Linked DNA regions of Homo sapiens: all the other regions are linked to region 3. Evidence: promoter capture Hi-C in 16 types of primary human blood cells and fetal thymus (Javierre and others, 2016). All regions are on one chromosome and are shown on one strand. Each heading gives the region's core, a stretch centred on a gene start or on the middle of the fragment in contact. The rest is flanking DNA. Distances are from core to core; before and after follow the strand shown.

Region 1 (3,500 bases), core at 1-2,500, 270 kb after region 3:
CCAGGATGGGTGGAGCAGGGAAGAGCCAGGATGGGGAGAAGTTAGGGGTCCTGATGGCCATTATGGGAATAGAGGCTGGGGGCCAACTGACTGGCCCGGGCAATGATTCCCCAAACCCCTCACCATTGCTCCCCAGGAGCAGCAATGTCTGTGCAGGTAGCGGCTCCTGGAAGTGCAGGGCTGGGCCCAGAGCGCCTGAGCCCTGAGGAGCTGGTGCGGCAGACGCGGCAAGTGGTCCAGGGGCTGGAGGCGCTGCGGGCAGAGCACCATGGCCTGGCTGGGCACCTGGCGGAGGCCCTGGCGGGACAGGGCCCGGCAGCCGGCTTGGAGATGCTGGAGGAAAAGCAGCAGGTGGTGAGCCACTCGCTGGAGGCCATCGAGCTGGGGCTGGGCGAGGCCCAGGTATGAGGGGGCCAGGTGGGGAGCTGGGGGAAGGTCAGCTGAGGGCGGAGGGAGGGCCAGGCATGAGGGGGACAGGTATGTAGGGGACTGGGAGAGGGTTCACTATTGCAGAGGGGCACACTTTGGGAGGCTGAGGTGGGCAGATCACTTGAGGTCAGGAGTTCAAGACCAGCCTGGCCAACATGGGAAAACCCCATCTCTACTAAAAATACAAAAAGTAGCTGGGCATGAGGGCTCCTGTAATCCCGGCTACTCAGGAGGCTGAGGCATGAGAATCGCTTGAACCTGGGAGGCGGAGGTTGCAGTGAGTGGAGATCGTGCCATTCCACTCCAGTCTGGGTGACAGAGAGAGACTGTCCCAAAAAACAACAGAAAAAAGTATGGCAGAGAGGCACATCCGGGGCAGGGGGAGGCCTAGGGGAACCAGGCCTGGGAAGGGGAGGCTCCAGGTCAGAGATGGAGTCCCTTGGCAGCTTTAGGGGGTCCTTGTGTGTGACAGGGACCCCTGAACCAGATGGCATTCTTCAGTAAACTGTGGGTCCTAGGGCAAGTTTGGGGGTAAAATCAGAGGGGCCCCTGGGAGCCTCTGAGGGCACTGGGGCCATGTTGGCAGAGTCTCTGCAGAATCTGGGGGTGTCGTGCATAGTAGTGGGGTGCTACGGCCTGACTCGAGGCCTGGGCTGGGTCAGGGGCCGTCTGGCAGGGCAGGAACCAACCTCGACTTGGGACCCCCACCCCGGGCAGGTGCTGCTGGCCCTGTCGGCACATGTGGGTGCACTGGAGGCAGAGAAGCAGCGGCTGCGCTCGCAGGCCCGGCGGCTGGCCCAGGAGAACGTGTGGCTGCGGGAGGAACTGGAGGAGACGCAGCGGCGGCTTCGGGCCAGCGAGGAGTCCGTGGCCCAGCTGGAGGAGGAGAAGCGCCACCTGGAGTTCCTGGGGCAGCTGCGACAGTACGACCCACCGGCGGAGAGCCAGGTGCCACGGGCAGGGCGAGGCGGGGGGTGCTGGGCCCTTCATAGAGCCCCACAGTCCCCCAGACCCTCCTTAGAATCCCACAGTCCCCAAGATCCTCCTTAGAATCCCACAGTCCCCCAGACCCTCCTTAGAATGCCACAGTCCCCCAACCCTCCACAGAGCCCCCAGACCCACCAGAACTTCCACAGACGCCCCCACTAGCTACTCCACGAAGCCCCCGAGCCTCGCCAGACCCCCAGGGGGCCTCTGACGCTCGTGACCACCACCTCCCTCAAACCTTGAGATAGGCTGGGTGCGGTGGCTCACGCCTGTAATCCCAACACTTTGGGAGGCCGAGGCGAGCAGATCACCTGAGGTCCGGATTTCAAGACCAGCATGACCAACATGGAGAAACCCCGTCTCTACTAAAAATACAAAATTAGCCGGGTGTGGTGGCACATGCCTGTAATCCCAGCTACTCCGGAAGCTGAGGCAGGAGAATGGCTTGAACCCAGGAGGTGGAGGTTGCTGTGAGCCAAGATCGCACCATTGCACTCCAGCCTGTGCAACAAGCGAAACTCCGTCTCAAAAAAAAAAAAAAAACAAAAAAACAAAAACCTGAGATAGAGCCAGGGCCCCGGTCTCTGAAACAAGCCCCCACCACCCCGGCCCCCCACTTTCCTGTCTCTGCAGCAGTCTGAGTCCCCGCCTCGCCGAGACAGCCTGGCCTCCCTGTTCCCCAGCGAGGAGGAGGAGAGGAAAGGTGGGTGTTGGGAGTACATGCCACAGAGGATGGCAGGCCAGGGTGGGGAGGGGGCTCTGAGCTGCAGGACCCCAAAATCTCTGAGCCAGGGGATGGGGAGGTGAGGGCAGGGTGAGGAGGACCCTGAATGTGACAGTGCAGGTGAGGCTGGGAGCCACAAAGACAGGGTAGCCGCTATGAGCCTGGCAGGCCCCGTATTCACATCCCACAGGGCAGGTGGGCTGCCGTGTTCCTGTCCCGAGGCCAGGATGCATCCCACCAGCTGGTTAGATGCTAGTGACTCCTATCTCAGAAGTTAGCGTGGGGGCCCATAGTCCCAGGGGCCAGTTAGGCAGTCCGGCAGTTCTGAGGCACGTGTCCCCTCATGCGAGGCTGGAGGGGCAGGAGGCTTGCAGTGACCCAGAGCCCACCCCACCCCACCTAGGTCCTGAGGCCGCAGGAGCAGCAGCTGCTCAGCAGGGTGGCTATGAGATCCCTGCCCGCCTTCGGACCCTGCATAACCTCGTGATCCAGTACGCGGGGCAGGGCCGCTATGAGGTGGCGGTGCCTCTGTGCCGCCAGGCCTTGGAGGACCTGGAGCGCAGCTCGGGCCACTGCCACCCTGACGTGGCCACCATGCTCAACATCCTGGCGCTGGTGTACCGGTGAGCACTGCGGCCAGCCATGGCTGGGGGCAGGAACGGCAGGGACCCATTGGGTGCAAGTGGAAGGATCCTGGTGCCCCCTCTGTCACCATGGAGCACCTAGGGAGGTCAGGGGAGGGGACAGCAAGAATGGGAAAGGAAGGGAAGGCTCCTGCTGTGAGAACGGCAAAGAGGGAGTGGGACAGGGATCTGGGGGGGCCACTGAGCCAGGCAGAGAGGAGTCAGAGAGCACGGACACCAGGGACCCCAACAGAGCAGGCAGGAGACCTGGGGTGGCTAGAAGCTTGGCAGAGGTCTGGGGGTACAGGGCCCAGTGTTAGAGAATTGCGAAATATGGAGGGGCCCACAAAAGGCCCTCAAAGGGTGTGCCACCCATGCTTGGTTCAGCCAGGTTCCCTGGGCCTGTCAGGATTGGCCCAGCCCCTGTGGCTGCAGCTGCCCCAACCCTTGGCTAACCCCCTCCATTCCTGGGGCGCCCCCCACAGGGACCAGAACAAGTACAAAGAAGCCACAGACCTTCTCCATGATGCCCTGCAGATCCGGGAGCAGACGCTGGGCCCTGAGCACCCCGCGGTGAGTGGGGCCCCAGGGAGACGAAGTGGGGTCAAAGTGGGGCCACACCTGCCCATCCCTGACCTGTGCCTCCCCCAACCCCGCAGGTGGCCGCCACGCTCAACAACTTGGCTGTCCTCTATGGGAAGCGTGGGCGTTACCGGGAGGCAGAGCCCCTGTGCCAG
Region 2 (3,462 bases), core at 963-3,462, 420 kb before region 3:
TTTTTTAAAGAAGGGGCTCTGTTGCCGAGGCTGGAGTGCAGTGGCGTGATCATAGCTCACTGCAGCCTGGACCTCCCTGGGCTCAGGTGATCCTCCCACCTCAGCCTCCTGAGTAGCTGGGACTACAGGCACACGCCACCACACTCAGCTAATTTTGTTGTATTTTTTTTGCAGAGACAGGGTTTTGCCACATTGCCCAGGCTGGTCTGCAACTCCTGGGCTCAAGCAATCAACCCACCTCAGCCTCCTAAAGTGCTGGGATTACAGGCGTGAGCCACCTCGCCCAGCCTTAGGTCTTTTTCCTTATTACAAAAATAACTTGTGTCCACTGTAGAAATATCAAACAATTTAGTTATGAGCAAAAAGAAGAAAGTAGTGCCTATAGTTCAAGTGTACCCAGCCACCTCCAGAAATACCCAGTGACCCCTTATTATACATCCTGTCTTTTTTCTCTCTGTTTCTAAACAAAGACTGGAATTATGCTGTACATATAATTTTGAACCTTTTCGTCTGTCTTGTGAATACCTTTCCATGTCAAAGCACATAGATCCACAACTCCATTTTCCCCCACGTTGTATTAGGAAGACTGTCAAACATACAGAAAAATCATAGGAATTTTCCAGTGAACACTTAAGATTCCACCACGTGGATTCCCCTGCTAACATTTTACTGTGCTTGCTTTATCACGTTTCTGTGATTCCTTCAGTCCCTCTATTCATCCATCAATCATATTATGCATTTCAGAGCACCCCCAGCTCTCCTGCTTTTTTTTTTTTTTTTTTTTTTTTGAGGCAGGGCCTCACTCTGTTGCTCAGGCTGTAGTGCCGTGGCACAATCACAGCTCACTGCAGCCTTGAATTCCTGGGCTCAAGCGATCCTCCAGCTTCAGCCTCCCAGATAGCTGGGACTACAGGCACACACCACCACGCCTGGCTAACCTGGCCCCTTTTTTAGTGTTGCTGGGATTCCACCACTTTAAAAAAAAAATTCAAAGAATAGAGACAGGATCTCACTATGTTGCCCAGGCTGGTCTTGAACTCCTGTACTCAAGCAGTCATCTCACCTGGGCCTCCCAAAGGGCAGGGAAGGGATTCCAACATATGTGGATGTCATCAGTTATTTAACCAGTCCCTAGTAGAGGACACAGATGTCATTTTCCATTTTCAACTCTGCAAATGCCATGGTGGTGTCCATCCCCACTGGTCACTTGTCAGCAGTTGTCCGTGGAAGGAATTGCCGGTCAAAGGTTTTCAACTGGTGTGATGGTGCCTTTACTGTCCTGCCTCAAAGCACCGCAATTCAGGCTCTTGAGCCAGATAGCTGCGTTTGCATCCCAGCTCTGCGGAGCACCCAAAGCCTGATGCTTCCATCTCCTCCACCTCTGTTCATTAAACCAGTGTTCCTTGACTACTTACTGTGTGCCGGGTGCAATTAACCAACATACGTTGGTCGATAAAACAGACCAAATTTCCTCCCCATATAGAGCTTCCATTCTAGTGGTGAAAGAAACAAGAAGCAAGATAAAGTGTGTAGTGTGTGTGCAATGGTGATAAATACCATGGAGAAGACAAAGCAGAGAAGGGAATGGGACTGGGCGCCATGACTCATACCTGTAATCCCAGCACTTTGGGAGGCAGAGATGGGAGGATCACTTGAGGCTAGGAGTTCAAGACCAGCCTGGCCAACATGGCGAAACCCCATCTCTACCAAAAAAGATACAAAAATTGGCCGGGTGTGGTGGCATGCACCTGTAGTCCCAGCTACTCAGGAGGCTGAGGTGGGAAGATTCCATGCACCCAGGAGGTGGAGGTTGCAGTGAGTCAAGATGGTGCCACTGCACTCCAGCCTGGGTGACAGAGTGAGACGCTGTCTCAAAAAAATAATAATTAAATAAATTAAAGAGAAGGGGATGGGAAGGGTGATCATCACAGTTGAAATAGGGTGGCCAAGTGAGGTGTTACTAAGGTGACATCCCAGCAGAGGCCTGAAGGAGATGAGGGTGAGCTCTGCGGGTGCCTAGGGGGAAAGCATTCCAGCAGAGGGAACAGCATGGGCAAACCCATTTCTATCCATCAGTCCCTGCATAAGCAAACACCCTGGACACCTAACTGGAGAGTTTGAGGACCAACAAAGAGGCCACTGTGGATGCAGAGGCGGGAGCAAAGGGGAGAGTAATGGAAAACGTGGGCAGAGGTAGCAGGGGCCAGATCACGTGGGGCCTGTGACACCAGAAGACTTCGGTTTAACTCTGAGCCAGGCTAGGCCCCCAGAGGGTACTGAGCTGAGGTATGGGAACTGACTTAGGGTTCACAGGCGACCTCTGGTGGCCATGTGGGGAACAGACGAGGGGGCGAGGGCAGAAACGGAGCCCAGCGTGGAGGCGGCTGCTGGGGGCCGGGATGCACAGCGCCAGAGCAGGGAGGTACCGTGGAAGCCCTGAGGAGAGGTGGGATTCTGGATGGATCTTAAGGCGGGGCCGACATGATTGGCTAATGGGTTGGGTGTGGGCATGAGAGGAAGGGAAGAGTTGGGGGGCCTCCAGAGTTGCTCTCCGCTTATGCTATAGAGGGCGTGAGGGTTTCTGGGCACGTAGTGCGTGCTCAATCACTGTCACTCCGGACCTGCAGCAGAGGCCACCTCCTCACCTTTCTGTCTCTCCCAGGACCATGGGTCCCCTGCCACCCTTTGCTGTGGCCCAGGGCGCCCAGCTCCTGATCCGTCCTGTGGACAAACCAATCAACACAACTTTAATCTGCAACGTCACCAATGCCCTAGGAGCTCGCCAGGCAGAACTGACCGTCCAGGTCAAAGGTGAGGAACTCCCTGGGTGGGAAGAACAGGGACCAAAGGAAGAGGTCGAGGCAGGGTTCCCTGTCTAATGCTCTCTGGCTCCCATCCTTCTCCTAAGCCTTCTCACAAAAGGACCAGTGGGGCCAGCTTTACTCCCCTGTTAACTCCATACCTATATCACTGGTACCGTTGTTCAGCTGCCTGGATACACTCCCTCCACACACACAGGTTGGGATAGATGTGGAATCCCTCTCTCTCAGGGACTCAGGCCTTTCCAAATATATTAGGCAGACCTCTATCAATTGCAATTGACAGAAACACAAAGTAGTCTAAGCAAAAAAAACCAAACAAAACAGGACTTTATTGAAAATTCACCTTCAGGTATGGTTAGATCCAGGGGCTCCAACCTTGTAACCCAGGAACTTTTATTTTATACATCTCTTGTCTCTGCTTTTCGTTATACTGGCTTTATTCTCAGGCAGGCTCTGAAGCAAGATGGCCCTCGGCAGGGACAGGCTCACATTCTACCAGAATGGCAACAGCAGGAGAAAAAACATACCACTTTCAGTAACTGTAGCCATAGTCCCAGGGCTGGCTCTCATTGGCCCAGCTTAGGCCACAGCCCACCTATGAACCAATCATAGCAGCCAGGGAGAATGGAATATTCTGATT
Region 3 (3,777 bases), core at 972-3,471:
GGGCTGAGGCAGGAGAATCACTTGAACCTGGGAGGCGGAGGTTGCAGTGAGCTGAGATTGCACCACAGCACTCCAGCCTGGGTGACAGAGTAAGACTCCACCTCAAAATAATGGGGTAGCTACAGAGAAAGCTTAGCGGCCACCTAGTAAAGAGGTGGTAGTGACCTGGGTCCCCCACCCTCTGCATGGATCTCAAATTGAGCCCCCAAACCTGAATTTGGATTTCTATCTGGACCTTCGGGGTACTCTCAGTGGACACTTCCTAGGTGAACTAGCCTTTCCATTTTTCAAATTCTAGAGTCTTGGATGGGACAACCTTTGTGATACAACCAGTCCTGGGTCAAGAGCACAGGCCTGCATTCAAATTCAGACTTCTCTGCTCCCTAATTGTGTGACCTTGGGCAAGACATAGTCCTCTGTGTGCCTCAGTTGCTAGAATTCAGGGACCCTAGAGATCCCCTCCCTTTCAAGGGTGGTTGTGACCTCGCTTGGGGAATGGTTGAGAGCTTTGGTCCACATAAGCGCTCAAACAGCAGAGCCTGTGAAACCAAGGTGCCCATGATTCTCCAAGCCCTGTAGTGTTTTGTTCCAGCGATTCCATCACAGCCCCTCGCTCGCTCCTCCAGGCCACTCTCCATGCTCCAGCTCTAAAGCTGATTCAATCAGTCACAAGCCCCTCCTCTTTCCCACCACCAGACCCTCCCTGGCCCAACCCTAAATAATTCCACTTCTCAAAAGTCTCAGAAGGGCAAGGGCCAGGGGGCTGGAAACTAGGTTTGGATTAAGCCCTGCAGCCAACACTGACCAAAAGCTCACCGAGGGTCAAGCCCCATGTGAAGGCTTTTAATTCCCTCCCAAGAGAAGGAACCCGGGTGTCCAGCACCCGGGAGCTCGCTCAAACCAGGGGATTCCCAGCACGCGGGGCTGGGAGATTCCATCACCGAGGGAAGCCAGAAGCCCCTTCCTTGGCTCTGAACACTCAGCTGTACTAGCACCTCAATCAGAATTGACAGAGAGAGACAGGAGGGGGTGGCAACCTCCCCATTCCAGCTGGCCTCCACTCCCCCTCCCCCCGGCCGCTGCCCTCCCTAGAGGTCCCCTCCTACTGCCACCCTGGTCCAGCCACCTGGCCAGTTATTTCTGGCCAAGGGGAAGGAGAAGTGAAACCAGGTTGGGGTGTGTGTTGGGGGGGGCAAAATCCCGGGCTAGTCTTCTGGGGCTGGCCACACCCTGTAGGCGGCCCTCCTTCCCTGCCCAGTCCCCCCCCGCCCCCCCTCCACCGCCACCACTGGTCCCTGCCCTAGGACGGGCAGGCCCTGGCCACGCCTAGGCTGCACCCGATGGGGAGCGAGAAAGGGGAAGTAGTGCTCAGTGCCCTGCCGTCCAGCCCAGCCCCTTTCCAGCAGGAAGCCCAGCCCTCGAACTTGAGAGGGGGACTGCACCCGGCTTTACTCACCTGAGCCCTGGCCGCGGCTGGGGCCTCTGAAGAGCTGACAGCCCAGCTTCTTGTGGTCCATGAAGGCAGTGATGGCCTCCAACGGGAAGGTCTGCAGGCAGCGGCCGCAGGTCAACAGATCTGGGTGTTTGTCGGTCCAGGGCTGGCGGTCTGCAGGGAGGAAGCGGGTGGTGAGCGTGGGGTGGGGCCAGGATGGGGGCTGAGGGTGCTGAAGGAGAGGGGAAACCGAAGGTCAGAAGGGGGCCTGAGGGGCAGGACGGGGCGAAGGAGATAAGGCAGGGCGAGGGGCCCATGCCCAAAGGGAAGGGTCCCACCCGAGGGTCAAAGGTAAGGGAGGCTGGGCCCAGGGCCCGGGGTGCTCACCGGGATAGTTCGGGGTCAACGGCGTCCACAGGGTCCACGGGTTCCGCGGGCCGAGGGCGAGGAGGGCGGCCCCGGCGGGCATGGGGCCAGGGGAGTGGTGGGGTTCGCCGCCGAACCGCCCCGCCGAGGACACCTCCTTCGGGGAGAAGGGCCCCAGCCTTGGGGCCTGTTGGGGCTGCGCGTCTGGCTCGGGCTTGAGTTCGATGACGAGGTCCTGCATTTCCATCTCGTCGTCTGGGTTGGCGGCGGGCGCGGGCTCTACTCGGCGGGGCGCGCTGCCGGCCTTGCGGCGGGACATGAGTCGCGGGCCGGGCGAGCGAGCGGGCGGGCAGGCAGGCAGGCGGGCGGGCGGAGGACGCACGAGCGGAGGACGCGCGGACCGTGCGCGCTCAGGTGAGTGACTGCGGCGACCCGCCGCGAACTCTTACACGTGCTGGCCGGGCCCGTGGCTCCGCCTACCAGGGCGGGGCTCATGGGAGGGGACCGAGCCGCCCTGCTGGGGCCCTGACGGCGGCCTAACTCAATCTAGGCAGTGTCCCGTGCGTTTGGCTTAGTGACCAAATTTAATCACACCGAGTTCCCACAAGGCATTGAAACAGCTATCCCTGATCCCGTTTTAGGGCGGGTGAAACTGAGACACGGCATGCCCACACGCACCCCCAAGCGAGAAAAATAGTCGGTCACGTTTCTTATTAGGTGCCTGATAGTAATCTGGGCTATTTCATTAAATGCATTACAATAAAAATTCATTTTGCAAGCATTCACTGAGTGCCTCCTGTGCGCCAGGCTCTGTTTGAAGCCCTGAGAATACAGGAGGGAATAAACAGAAGATAATCTTTGTTTGCACGGAGTTCAGACGGTGGGGGAAGACACTATAAACATAATTACGTAAAATATAGATGGCCCTTCATGATGACCAGTGCCATGGAGCAAAAGAAAGCTGGAAAGGCGGAGAGGGTTACTGGGGTTGAGGGATTCAATTTTCTCCCCTATGATGGGAAAGGGCATGGTGGAGCTGAGGCTGGAGGGAAGGAAGCCCAGCCAGTGGGCCTGGGCATTGAGGAATTACAAGGAAAGGGAGAGGCAATACGGGTTGGGGATTGAGTTCAGTGAAAATATGGGGGCAGATCCAAGCAATCTTTTGATCGCTTTAAGGTCTTTTGGTTTTCCTGAGACCGGAGCCTTAGGAGGGTTTTGAGCAGAGGAGGACTGTAATCATACACATCGACTCTGTTCCTAGACCAGAAGTCGCCATTAAAACCAAATAGCCAAGCAGCTCACCTGCCTCCACTCCGCCTCCTTGAACTTCCCTCCCCTAAGCAGTTCTGTCTGCTCACTGTTTGAAGTGGCATCGACACCCTGCCCCACCCTCAATCCCTGATGAGTATTCTTTTCTTCCTGGCACCGACTGCACGACAGTATAGAACGGCTTGTGGACTGTCCTCTCCCCCACCCAATGCAAGCCCCCTGAGGTCAGGGCAAGAACCTGTCCTCCCCCAGCTGTCCTCAGCCCAGATGCTGATTTCAGATGCTGATCTCTTGGAGTTCTGCACATTGTTATTCAGGTCTGGGTTCCATTGTCCTCCTGAGAGCAGAGGGCCCTGACCAACAGTATCTAAAGTAGCCCCACCCTGCTGAAGGCCTTGCAAATTACACTCCATGACCTCCATCTGTCCCCAGTTCCCTCTTGGATCTCACTTTCTCCATCTGTCAAAGGAGGTAGGGCAGGTTGGAACTAGAGGGTTATCTGAGGTGGTTTCTTCTTCACTGCCGCCTCCTCTGATCACCCTTTTTTTTTTTGTAATTTTTAATTTTTCAAAAAAAATTATTTTTAAATAGAGACAGGGACTCGCTTTGTTGCCCTGGTTGGTCTGAAACTCTTGGCTTGAAGCGCTCCTCCTGCTTCAGCATCCCAAAGTGCTGAGATTACAGGTGTGAGACACTGCACTCAGCCTCAG

Evidence for each region. Contacts are between HindIII fragments. The CHiCAGO score rates a contact against its expected background, and 5 or more counts as called.
Region 1: a fragment that was not itself captured here is called in contact with the fragment with the promoter of ZNF296 in region 3 in 1 of 17 cell types (endothelial precursors); the score reaches 5.2 in endothelial precursors.
Region 2: a fragment that was not itself captured here is called in contact with the fragment with the promoter of ZNF296 in region 3 in 1 of 17 cell types (naive B cells); the score reaches 5.3 in naive B cells.

What each region holds. Positions count from the first base shown.
Region 1 is chr19:45,345,398-45,348,897 of GRCh38, forward strand. It overlaps KLC3 (kinesin light chain 3), which reads left to right. Exons shown (of 13, transcript NM_177417.3): 2 at 137-402; 3 at 1,147-1,377; 4 at 2,050-2,119; 5 at 2,544-2,763; 6 at 3,249-3,336; 7 at 3,423-3,500. The coding sequence starts at 145. Among named protein-coding and RNA genes, the nearest start is that of KLC3, 6.4 kb to the left of the region's middle. RefSeq lists a silencer at 1,134-1,428. The HindIII fragment of the contact is 3,588 bases long and covers 1-3,044 here.
Region 2 is chr19:44,655,100-44,658,561 of GRCh38, forward strand. PVR (PVR cell adhesion molecule) reads left to right here. Exons shown (of 8, transcript NM_006505.5): 5 at 2,663-2,811. Among named protein-coding and RNA genes, the nearest start is that of MIR4531, 3.1 kb to the left of the region's middle. RefSeq lists a silencer at 1,439-1,639. The HindIII fragment of the contact is 5,268 bases long and covers 1-3,462 here.
Region 3 is chr19:45,074,257-45,078,033 of GRCh38, forward strand. It overlaps ZNF296 (zinc finger protein 296), which reads right to left and starts at 2,222. Exons shown (of 3, transcript NM_145288.3): 1 at 1,820-2,222; 2 at 1,457-1,606. The coding sequence starts at 2,117. It also overlaps a transcript of GEMIN7 not described here. RefSeq lists silencers at 1,039-1,348, 1,679-1,918, 2,009-2,418. The HindIII fragment of the contact is 16,244 bases long and covers 130-3,777 here.